4 separate regions of the Homo sapiens genome follow, and regions 2, 3 and 4 are each linked to region 1. The links are contacts of gene promoters, found by promoter capture Hi-C in blood cells and fetal thymus (Javierre and others, 2016). All regions are on one chromosome and are shown on one strand. The core of a region is centred on a gene start or on the middle of the fragment in contact, and the rest is flanking DNA. Distances in the headings are between cores, read along the strand shown. Region 1 holds the start of DCTD (dCMP deaminase). Region 2 overlaps SAP30 (Sin3A associated protein 30). Region 3 holds the start of SPATA4 (spermatogenesis associated 4). Region 4 overlaps SPCS3-AS1 (SPCS3 antisense RNA 1).

Region 1 (3,027 bases), core at 302-2,801:
GATGTATGGGTTGTAGGTTGGTAAGAAGAGAAATGGATCTATGAAGACCCAAAGACTGTAGATGAGTGTGACAAAGACCAAGCGGTGGATTTGGGAGGAGGAGGGAAACCAGGGGCTCGGGATATATGACACATTTTAGCGGCAACAAGACAGCCATGTAAAGTCAACTTGAAATTAAAAATCATCATCTTAATCTATGTGGCTCTTTCAAGCCTGAGTCTTATCAAGGCAAAAAAAAAAAAAAAAAAATCTATAGTTAACGATGAAGTATTTCTCCCTTTTGCTTTCCCGGCATCCACCAAGAGCAGTACATAATTTAATTATTGAATCTACAAGCTGGACCATGAGATGAAGAATGATGTGTCTGCTGTAGTGAGAAATTAGATAGAACCAACTGTTTACTCTCATCATTCTTCCTCCGTTAGGCTAAATTAATATAGTTAACAAGCTTTTGTTTGGAATAGCAGTTCAAATCTGGGATGTGCAGATCAGAACTGGCGATTATTACAGTAGCTGTTATTTATGGAGTGCTGACAGTCCCCTCAAGTCCCATGAATGAAACAGAAAGGGGTTCTTCTGTCATTCTCTGTGCTAGAACCACTGTAAGGGGCTAGACGTCTGCACAGGGTAACGAAGTTCATGAAAACCAGATTAAGTTGCTTGGGGCATACGACTCCAGAAATGTCACTGATGGTCTTTCCTATTGCCCTGTTTTTCTCATCTTTGAAACAACTGCAACAAAATGTGCACTATATAAGTGGGCGAGCATTACCAGGAGGTAACATGCAGGTGGGGTGCCTGTGCGGTGATACGGGTCGAGCAGGGCGCGGCAGGCTTTAGCAAACACCTCAGGCCCTTCCGCACAATTTGAGCAGAAACTGAAAGCCTGTCAGGCGCAGCCAAATGCAAATCTAGCTTCGAGGCACTGAGCCTCGAGGCACAGCGCCCCCGCCGGACCCAGTTCCCTGCCCCATCCAGTGTGTGAAACTGTGACCCAGCCACCGGCCAAGGGTCCCCACGGGGACGCTGCGACACAGCGGGCTCACTCCAGAGACCCAAACCAGGTCTCCCCACCTCCCGCCCCGCCAGTTTCACGGCACTAGATTCTTGGGGTCGTCTTTTAATCACAATCTCCATAGCCGTGTCTCTAAGCAGTTGATGGAACACGGATGGTGGGGAAAACCTCACCACCGCCACCACCACCAAACCAAGCAGCCCCCGACGGTCGTGCAGTCAGGCCCGGGAGCGCCCAACTCGCGGCCACCCAGCGCCACGCGTGACCCGGGCAGCGGGGCGACCTCGGGGCGGTCTGGCACCCGGGAAGTAGTTTGTGCTCGGGCTCTGAACACCGCCGGCCGGACCGCGGGCTGCGTCACGGGGACCGGGAGGCGTACGGCGACGCGGAGCAGCGCCTTTGCGGCGTGCGACCCGCCCCCGCCGTCCCTCCCTCCCTCCCCTCAGGGCTTCGGGCCCCCGGGGCCAGCCGCCGTCCTGCGAACGCGCGGCGCCCGGGCCGCTGCCCCCTTCCGGCCCCGCGGCGGCCCCGCCTCCTCCCCCGACTTCCTTCCCTGAGCACGGCGGCGGCGGGGACGAGCACCGGCCTGCGCGCGGAGCCGGCACCGGATGGTGGGCGGGGGCCAGCCGTGCGGGTACGCGGCCCGCGCGCCCCTAGCCACCGCCGCGTGGCACCGTCCCGAGCGCGTGGCGCGGGGCGCTGGCTGCCGGGCGGGGGCCTGGGGCCGCGGACGCTGGGGGCGCCTCGGCCGCGCTCAGCCTTTAGATCGGAGAATGCGGGCGGGGTGGGGGCGCTCGGGGTCCCCGCAGTCACTCCAGGGTCGATTTCTCGGCGGGCGCCGCGGCCTGTGCGAGGCCGGGCCCCTTGGAGTGCCCCGGGAGGTGGTGCTGGGCGTCTGAACACCACATCCCTTCCTGCGCCCGTGTGTGGGTTGGGAATGCCGGGTGTAGGCCCTGGATCAGAGCTGACGGGGTTGCGAGCGGCGTGGGGTGTGCCTGGGACGGTGACCGGATGTGTCTTCCTGAATCGTTGTATTCGAGCTCCAGTTCTCTCTGTTTCTACAGCTGGGCCTCAGTCCTCACAGGGCTCTAGTGGGCGTTCAGCCACACCAGGAGAAGGCGCCCAGGGGATTAACAGGACCCTTCCCTCTCCTGCTCTTCCCTCGCCCCCCATGGCTCCCCCTCCCTCCTATTTAGTAGGTACTTCTCCAGCACCCCACAGCGATGATGGATGCTGGCCCTAAAGCCAGGTGGGAAACCAGGCTGATTCAGCACCTGTCTTTTCCTGTTAGGGGGGTTGCCAGGCCTCTCAGATGTGGGGCAGCGTAATCAGTGGGTGACCGTGGTTCCCAGCACCCACTCTCCACTGCATCCTTGTCTTAGGCACTGCCGCCCTGCACTGTAGCAGATGCCTAAATAAAGTGTGGAGCCTGAAGCAGAAGTTTTGGGAGATGCTTGCCTTCCTTTAGACCACATTCCTCGCCTTTCTCAAGATTTCTCCGTGGTACCCACCCCGTTTTTGTGTTGTCTTCCTTCCTTGCCCTTGTTTCATTCCTTTTGAAAGCGACCACTCCCCTGAAGTCCTAGGACCCCCTTCGTGGGCTCTCCCTGCCGTAGACAGTCTCTGCTTGCCCCTGGTAAACTACGTTCCAAAAACCTTGCTTTAGGAGTAGCACTTGACGTTTTTCATAGTTTCTTCTCATGTAATTCATTACTCGGAGTTGATAACTTCTGTCCCATCTGGATTATTGAGGAGAAAGGGAAGGGAAAAATTATCTGGTTAATATCAGAGTTGGGAAGGCTTCAGATGTTTTCTTTGAATCCGTCTGGCATGGATGATAATCCTGTGTGGTTTAGGTTAAGTTACCTAAGTTCTCTGAGTCTGTGTAAGATGGGATGGCACTGTCTACCTTAGCTAGGAGTAAGGCTTGAGTGACATGATGTGTATAAACTTTAACAATGTCTGGAATCTATAGATGATCAATAAATATTTCTTTTTTCCACCCTCCTCCT
Region 2 (3,027 bases), core at 257-2,756, 9.5 Mb after region 1:
GATGTTTACCTGCTTCCTTGCTTTTTCATTGTGCTAACATAACATGCATACTACAATTACTAATAGAAGAATAATAGACTTACCTGGGGTGCTGACATGCATATTTAGATTCCAGAAAATAAAATTTCTTAAGAAAAAAGTTCATCCACACAATAATTAAGAGACTTAAGACTTAGTCATACAACCCTGGATTCCCTTAAAACAGTGGTCCCCAACCTTTTTGGCACCAGAGATAGATTTCACGGAAGGCAATTTTTGCACAGATTGAGGGTGGCGGAGTTGGTTTTGGTATGAAATTGTTCCACCTCAGATCATCAGGCATTAGATTCTTATAACAAGCATACAATCTAGATCCCTCACATGTGCACTTCACAAGAGGGTTTGGACTCCTCTGAGAATCTAATTCTGTGGCTGATCTGACAGGAGGCGGAGCTCAGGCAGTAATGCTTGCTAGCTGGTGCTCACCTCCTGCTCTGCGGACCCGTTCCTAACAGGCCACCAACCAGTACCAGTCCATGGCCCTGGGGTTGGGGACCCCTCTCTTAAAATATATGTACTACATCTGCACATTCCTTAACTTGCTAATATCTGCATTTCTGATTAAGTAAAATATAACACTCATGGCTATCTCTTATGTATAAAAAAGAAAATAGCTCTGGAAATAATATAACTGTTCTTAGAAGGTCAGTTTATCAAAAATTACAGGTTTAATTTATACCTAAATATAACATTTAAAATAATCAGTTCTTTGGTTCTCATTTGTCCCAAAACAGGGGTGCCTTCACTCCATTAGTACCTATTGAAATATTTCATCATGGTGGGCAATAACTATATTTATGTTACATTAATGTATTGTACAACCCCAAAAGAACTTGATCTTTTAAATCAAAATTAAAGAAAAATTAATTAGATCTGTGTTGCCCAACCAAGGATAAAAAATTTTAGCTAAATAGTTAATATATTAGATTTTAACAATGTTAAAAAGCATTCTGCCAAATAAATGTAACTTCTATTCATATTTCATTTTATTCAATAGGCACATTTTAGAAAATGTTGGGTAACTACTAAATCCATGCAAAGAATATGAGAAAACTGATTTATATTTCTACACTTCTATTTTGTCTAGTAGGCCAAATTTTCTTTTTTTAGAGATGGAGTGTTGCTATGTTGCCCATGGTGACTCAAACTCCTAGGCTTAATCAATCCTCCTCAGTAGCTGCAAGTAAAAATTTTTATTTTAAATATGATTAAAATATATATATATAAATCTATAAACATCTTAATAAGATGCACAGATTTCTTGGTTCTATTATATCCTGAAAACATATGCATGCTCCGTTAACTTTTCACAACTCAGTGACTGACTAGAAGTCCTCTATCAAAGCAAACTACAAGTAAAAGCTTGGGTAAAAGAAAAGCTTTTGCCTCTTCTAGATGTGAAAAAAACATGGATGTCTCTAATAAAACAAACATCAACAAGGACAAATTTTGAAATAGTTAAGTCAGCAAATTATAAAAATACTGTTTAGGGTCTGATTTGTAGGCCTATTCCACCACTTTAAAATATAAATTCTAATAAGGACATTAAAGCTTGTTAATTAATTTTATTATGCCTCAATTAGGTGCTCAAATGTTTACTGGTTAAACGGAGTTTTAAAATTAATAGATTTCTAAAGTGAGGATTAAAAAAACTCTCATTCAACATTTTGAGGGCCAGGCACGGTGGCTCACACTGGTAATCCCAGCACTCTGGTAGGCTGAGGTGGGCAGATCACTTGAAGTCAGGAGTTTGAAACAAGTCTGGCCAACATGGTGAAACCCTATCTCTACTAAAAATATTATACAAAAATTAGCCTGGTGTGGTGGTGCACACCTGAAGTCCCAGGTACTTGGGAGGCTGAGGCTGGAGAATTGCTTGAACCTGGTAGGTAGAGGTTTCAATGAGCCAAGATCATGCCACTGCACTCCAGCCTGGGTGACAGAGTGAGATTCTGTCTCAAAAAACAATCAACACATTTTGAAAGCCAGTATCAGAAGGTGCTGTACACAATCTACTAAGCAGTCATTACAAAAAGGAATTTCCTAAGTGGCAGACAAACATTTCTACACAACTAGATTCTTCCACAACAGATTTTTTAACTTTGTTCTTTCTAATTAAAATGTACTGTTACATACACTACATTAAAACTTCCATTAGCACTTAATAACCTCTCGGTTGTGCAGATAGTTCAAATAGTTTAAAACTCATATATACCTCAACAAGTTGTGCTTTATTAAGTCCTGGTCTGGTTGGTAGCTTGAAGTGTCTTTTGTATCTCCTAAGTGTATTTACTTGTAATTGGTATAAATCAACCTAGAAAAAATTAACATGTATAAATGAGTTCATACAATTTGTTGAAAATTTATCATTGATATGTATAATAACAAACATTTTAACTTCAGCACAATAAAATTTACTTCCAAAATCAAAAAAAATTTAAAAAATTTATATAATCCAACATAAATTATTAAAGAATTTAATCTTTTGGGGATAAATAATATAAACTGAGGTCAAAAAAAGAGTAAGTTATGTGACAACAGAGCTGCAAAAATTGTCAATCTAAAATGTAACAATTCAAACTGTGTAAATGCATGTCAACTGGCTATATTTAATTTTGCTTTCATTTTCAGATTTCTCAAATGTTTTAAACACTTAAAAGATTGTTCATATCTTTTTATAAAGGCTTCAGAATGCACTACTTAGGATTTACATTAAGCATAAAAAACTTCCATCTACCTCTGGGGTATCAATATCTTGAACAGGTGAATCACCTCCATCATCATCACTCCCTTTTCTCTTTCTTCTGTTTCGAACACTCTGAATTAAGTTTTTATGATAATCACATATGTAAAGATGCCTTGCCTGAAACAGAAAAGTTTTACACACTGCTTATGATTACAGTAAAATGTGTCTATGTATTAGTAAAACACATATGCCACAGTGAGTTCTTAAAAATAAAGACAGCCAAGATGGGCCATTGTTAAGAT
Region 3 (3,027 bases), core at 244-2,743, 6.7 Mb after region 1:
TCTATCTCTGAATCTCTTATAAATGATCTGCCGCACAGAGCTGTCCAATCGAAATTCCTGTAGTGATGGAACAGTGCTGTGTCTGTCCTACCCAACATGGCAGCCACTAGCTACATATGGCTATTGAGCAGGTAAAATGTAGCCAGTGGAACTGAGTTTATTTAAATTTAAGTTTAAATAGCCACATGTGGCTAGTGGCTACCATATTGGATGGTAAAGATCTAGCACATACTCCAGGATAGTTCCTCAGAAAAGGTTTACAGAATGAATGAATCATTCATTAAAACTTTTTTAGCCTAACAGAAAACACTTACATAGCTTCAGTTTTGGTTTTCTTTTTTAACCACATACAGAATACACTGGTTTACTTTATTAATAAGCATGTATATGAATAAACATTAAAAATATTACATAGTATCATTATCAAGATCTATCCCATATTTTACCATGTGTATGTATCCACAGGGCCTGTCACCTGGCTCTCTGCAGCCTCAAGTTCCTGAGCTCAAGCAATCCTCCCACCTCAGCATCTGGAGTACTTGAGAGTACAGGTGTGCACCACCACACCCAGCTATTTTGTTTGTTTGTTTGTTTTGTAGCGAAAGTCTCTCCACCTTGTGTTGCCCAGGCTGGTCTTGAACTCCTGAGCTCAAACGATCCTCCCGCCTCCACCACCCAAAGTGCTGGGATTACAGGCATGACCCACTGTGCCCTGCCAAGCAAAAAAAAACAAAAAACAAAAAACAAAAAACAAAAAACTGTGGCTGTAAAAATTTTTAATGGATTTTAATAATTAAGCTTACATATTTATAATTGCCTATGCCAACTTTGCAGTTGTTTTCATTGTGTTCAGATAGATCCCAAGTGACTAGATGAATGCGTGGCACATAATATGGACTCAATACATATTTGTTGAATTAATGAAGGAATTATGCCTACTAGGAGATTTTAATTAAGTGTGAAAATCTAACCTACACATCGTTTTCAAATATTAATGTTTACAAATACTTAATGCAATAATTAAGGAAATAGTTATGTTAAATTTTGTGGACATTCATTTCCATTTCAAAGATTTTTTTCCCCCATCTCTTCCAATTCCCAAACAAAAACTGTCCTTGGCCTCTGGAGTCTTCTCACACCACTCCTCAAACTAGACGACTGAAAATAGGCCTTTGGCTGGGCAGAAACCAACAATATTTAAAATACAAAACTTATGAACGATGACATAAGAAAAAAAAAGCTCTAAATAGGTTAACAGTGAGGCCAACTAAATCTGAGACTGAAAGCGCTCCCCAGACCGCAGCCACACCACTGGGACCCCAGCTTTGCCTCCCTCGATACCCGGCCCCGCGGTCCAAAATCTGAGTAAAGCGGAAGTACGGGCGGCTGCTGCGGCGCTTGCGCAGGCGCTGAGGTCTCGCCCCATAAGACTCCGCCCCGCCCCACGAGACCGCGCCGCCAGCAATAAGGCCCAGCCCCGCCTTCTGCTGTTGCCGCAGCAACCCAGAAAGCGTCATGGCTGCCGCCGGCCAGGAAAAAGGGTATTTGACACAGACTGCGGCAGCCCTAGACAAGTCACCGTCACTTTCGCCACAGCTAGCAGCTCCCATCCGAGGGAGGCCTAAGAAGTGTCTGGTCTATCCGCATGCGCCGAAGAGCTCCCGCTTGTCTCGTTCCGTTCTGCGTTGGCTTCAGGGTCTGGATCTCAGCTTCTTCCCCAGGAACATCAACAGGTGCTTGAGTAAGCCAGTCCTAGGCCCCCCCGGTGGGCGCCCCGCCTGCTTTCCGCCGCCTGCCAGGCCTCAGATTGCCTACCCTGGCCTGGCTTATGTTTCAAATCAAGACCCCCCCACCCACGTACACACACGAAAACACTATTAGGGAACAAGGCTTTAACAAAATACCACGATACATCTTGTTTATTCAATTAATCAACCAATCATTAAATTGTGGACAATATAGAATGCTTTGGTGACTACAAAAATATTAAAATAGTCAAAGCTTTTTCTTTAGTGATATTGGGCATTAATACTGGTAAGGACGGCCGGGCACAGTTGCTCATGCCTGTAATCCCAGCATTTTGGGAGCCGAGGCAGGCGGATCACCTGAGGTCAGGAGTTGAGTAACAGCCTGACCAACACGGTGAAACCCCGTCTCTACTAAAAAATACAAAAAATTAGCCCAGTGTGGTGGCGGGTGCCTGTAATCCCAGCTACTGGGGAGGCTGCAGGCAGGAGAATGCTTGAACCCGGGAGGCGGAGGTTGCTGTGAGTCGAGATTATGCCGCTGCACTCCAGCCTAGGTGGCAGGGTAAGACTCTGTCTCAAAAAAAAAAAAAAAAAAAAAAAAAAAAAATACTGGTAAGGATCAGTTTACCCTTTGTCGGAGATGGCATCTAGTTTGAGAGTTACCAACAAGTTTTTAAAGTTGCTGCTTAATTGTAGGCACTTTGTATGTAACTGGCAGCTAATATTTGCTCTGGGAATGCAAACTAAATTCTATAAAAAGGCAATGAATCTTTTGCAGAACTCTGGTTTAAAGTAGTCTCTCCTTATCAGAGAGGCATAGGTTCCAAGATCCCCAGTGGATGGCAACTGTGGATACTACAGAACCCTCTGTCAGAACACATTTCTGTTTATGTCTTCCATCCACAAATTTAATGCCTTTTTAAAAATCTTAACTAAGCACTTATCACACACTGTGGCTGAAAGTTTTTCAGTTTGAGGTGTGATGCCGAAACTATCAAGAATTTCTTTTTCTTCATATTTCAGGAATATGATTCATTCCTACCATTGTAACCATTCTTACAACTTTCTATTAAGTCAAGAACTTTCATCTTTTCACCTAAAGGAATAATTTTATGGTTTCTCTCTGGCATATCTGAATCACCAGCATCACTGCTCTTGCACTTTGCACACAAGCGCACCACACTGTACAGTTGATCTGATGACTAAAAGGTGACTGATGTCTACAACGTGGAGACTCTGGACAAAGGGAGGACTCACATCCTAGGCAACACAGAGCAGG
Region 4 (3,027 bases), core at 209-2,708, 6.6 Mb after region 1:
AAACAAGCATCGCTACACAGGCAACCATTTACCAGTTATATGTGGAGAGTGAGTGATGGACCCAAAAGGAAGACTGATAGGAGGGGCATTTCGGAAACAAACTCTATGTTACTTAGCAACTGCCTAAATAAGAGTGGGGGTCTGCAAAGCATAGAGTGAATGCAGATTGTGAACACTCAAATGAAACTAGTATTATTATTATGACACCACAGTTTTTAACTTGACTTACTGGTAGTGCTAAAAACACATAAAAGTCCACAAAAAGAGCAGGAGAGGGATGGGATAGGGAATTTTCTTATTCTGTTTTATTTTTCCAAGTGTTTCTTTAGATTTTCTAGACATTTATATCACCTACATTAGATATCATTTTGCCTTTTCCGTTCCAATTATTATATTTCCAATTGTTTATTCATTTCAGTAGCTAATATTTCCAACATGATATTCAGTCAGATGGGGACAACTGATATCTTTTTGTTCCTGATTTGAGCAGGAAATTTCCTTTCATTTCTCCATCAAGTAAGATGTTGGCTTTGAGATGGAAATTGTGTGTGTGTGTGTACATGTATCATTATATAATATATATTGCATATTGATAGGAAATATCTATTCCTATTGGGAAATTTTTAAAAATATAAACAAGTGCTAAATTGTTTTCAGATGCATTTTCCCTATCTTATTTCCTCTACTTCTTTCCTCTATCTTATTTCCTCTGCTTATTTAATGGGTTATATGAATAGATTTTATAATATTGGCCCAGTAAGCATTCCTGGAATAAACTCCACCTGGTCATGATGAATTAGTTTTTAATATGCTCTTGTGCTTTCTTTGCTAATTTTGGGGTTTTTTGTTTTTTAGTTTGTGTAATCAATATTCATAGTGAAACTGATGTGTTTTTTTGATTGTAATATTATACTCAAATTAGAAAATATATATTTCTAATATAACAAGGAAAATAAGTTTTCCTTAGTTTTCTGTGCACTGGGATATTTTAAGTAGCATTTGGATCTGGTCTTTAAAAATTTGATAGAAAATTTGGTAGAAATTCCCAAGGGAGTCTATTCTTCTATTTTTTTTAAATTATTAATTGTTAATTCTAATTATGTATACTTGTGCTTTCTACCTTTTTCATTTATTGTTTTAATTAGTATTTTTTCTTGTTTTCTTTCAAAGCACTTCTGCATTTACTAATTAACTCTACTGTTTTCCAACTCATTAATTTTTGGTTTTAACACTATCAACTTTTTTCATTCCACTTTTTTTGTTTATTAGCTTTGGAAATTGGATATTTAGTTGGTATATTTTTCATGTTTATTGTTATGGTAACTGCTTTAGCTGTATCCTAAAATTTCTGACTATGAATTTCCAAGAGAAAGTACCATTTTTCCTTTTGATTGCTTTAAATTAATGTCTGATTTTAAATCATGTAGGCAGAGAATGCTGTTTGTATATTTCTATTCTTTGGATTATTGAGGTCTTCTTTGTGGCCTAAAATGTCACTTTTGTGAAAATTCAATGTGCAACTTGAAAGAAGGTATTTCCTCTTAATAGTATATAGAATTTGATAGATACCTATGAGATCTGCCTTATTGATTATGTTATTTATGTCTTTTACATCTGTAGTAATATTTGTTACCTTCATTTTCTTGGATTCTGAGAGATTTGTTAAAATCTCCAATACTGTGTTTTGTCTGTTTATTCTCACATCTCCTATAGTTTCTCCTTCACAAAAATTGTTGATATATTATTTGGTAAGCAAGTATTAATAATAGTTACATTTTCATTATGAATGGTAGTCTTCAACATTGTAACGTGTTATTTTATTTTTAATGCTTTTTGATGCAAATACTACTAGTCAAACACTGAGGTTGTACTGAAGGAAACTGAGGCTGTTTATCTGAAATAGTATTACAGACCTTAAATTAATACGTAGCATTTTTAAACTAAGTGTCTTGTACTCTTTAATGATTTCAGCTCAGAACCTAGTGGCAGTAATGGGGGGAGCGATTGGCATGCTTTGTCAGCGCTTGAGTAAATAGCGATCAGCTGGGAAAGACATGCCTAACTGTATTTCTGAAGGATAGAAAGAAACCTAGAATAAATGTAAAGTTTTGATCTTCATATTTGCAAATAATTATTCTTCTGTAACACCAAGCTAAGAAGAGGTAAGAACAATAAATCACTTTATAAGGAAATCTTTAAATAAAGCTGTGTGCACATGGCCAGATAATGCTTTTTAAAAAGGGGATAAACTGAAAGATATAATAAAAGCCTTCTTTTTTTTTTTTGAGATGGAATTTCGCTCTTGTTGCCCAGGCTGGAGTGCAATGGCGCGATCTCAGCTCACTGCAACCTCCACCTCCCAGGTTCAAGTGATTCTCCTGCCTCAGCCTCCCGAGTAGCTGGGATTACAGGCGCCCGCCACCACGCCCAGCTATTTTTTTGTATTTTTTGTGGAGACAGGGTTTCACCATGTTGGCCAGGCTGGTCTTGAACTCCCGACCTCAGCCGATCCGCCCGCCAAGGCCTCACAAAGTGCCGGGATTATGGGCATGAGCCACTGCGCCCGGCCAATAAAAACGTTCTAATTAAATATGGTGTTATTGGGAATATCCAAAGAGTCCACAAAGCACCAAGCTCCCCAGGGAAGTTCCTGCAATGGAGCATGTTATAGATCTAGCACATTAAGGACTCAAATGGTTTTCAGAAAGTGACTATGAATTATGTTGTTCATCATAGAGAGTGGGGATCAGGTCTTGTTCATTTTTCTATCCCTTTCAGTGCCCAGGACACTGAGCCTTGCACGTAGTAGATGGTCAAAAAAATTCTTATTGAATTGAGATACCTTGAAATCATAGATCATGATATTTTTGAAAGAATTCTCATGTAAAGCATATATGTCACACACAGGTAACGAACAGTTAAAGTGTAAATGGGTAAAATGGTAAAGTGTAAAGCTAAATTGAATATGTAGGCCAAGGACAAATTGTAAAAGGCTTGAGTGCCAGGCTAATAAGTTTGATCATAATT

The links. Contacts are between HindIII fragments. The CHiCAGO score rates a contact against its expected background, and 5 or more counts as called.
Region 2: a fragment that was not itself captured here is called in contact with the fragment with the promoter of DCTD in region 1 in 1 of 17 cell types (total B cells); the score reaches 5.3 in total B cells.
Region 3: the fragment with the promoter of SPATA4 here is called in contact with the fragment with the promoter of DCTD in region 1 in 6 of 17 cell types (non-activated CD4 T cells, total CD4 T cells, naive CD8 T cells and 3 more); the score reaches 13.9 in non-activated CD4 T cells.
Region 4: a fragment that was not itself captured here is called in contact with the fragment with the promoter of DCTD in region 1 in 1 of 17 cell types (total CD4 T cells); the score reaches 8.9 in total CD4 T cells.

What each region holds. Positions count from the first base shown.
Region 1 is chr4:182,915,910-182,918,936 of GRCh38, reverse strand. DCTD (dCMP deaminase) reads left to right here and starts at 1,551. Exons shown (of 6, transcript NM_001921.3): 1 at 1,551-1,626. RefSeq lists a silencer at 1,210-1,919. The HindIII fragment of the contact is 3,169 bases long and covers 451-3,027 here.
Region 2 is chr4:173,373,265-173,376,291 of GRCh38, reverse strand. It overlaps SAP30 (Sin3A associated protein 30), which reads right to left. Exons shown (of 4, transcript NM_003864.4): 2 at 2,777-2,902; 3 at 2,255-2,353. Among named protein-coding and RNA genes, the nearest start is that of SAP30, 3.8 kb to the right of the region's middle. The HindIII fragment of the contact is 172 bases long and covers 1,421-1,592 here.
Region 3 is chr4:176,194,051-176,197,077 of GRCh38, reverse strand. It overlaps SPATA4 (spermatogenesis associated 4), which reads left to right and starts at 1,493. Exons shown (of 6, transcript NM_144644.4): 1 at 1,493-1,733. The coding sequence starts at 1,516. The HindIII fragment of the contact is 1,203 bases long and covers 801-2,003 here.
Region 4 is chr4:176,315,184-176,318,210 of GRCh38, reverse strand. The region is part of intron 1 of SPCS3-AS1 (SPCS3 antisense RNA 1); the gene reads left to right. Among named protein-coding and RNA genes, the nearest start is that of SPCS3, 3.3 kb to the left of the region's middle. The HindIII fragment of the contact is 4,304 bases long and covers 1-3,027 here.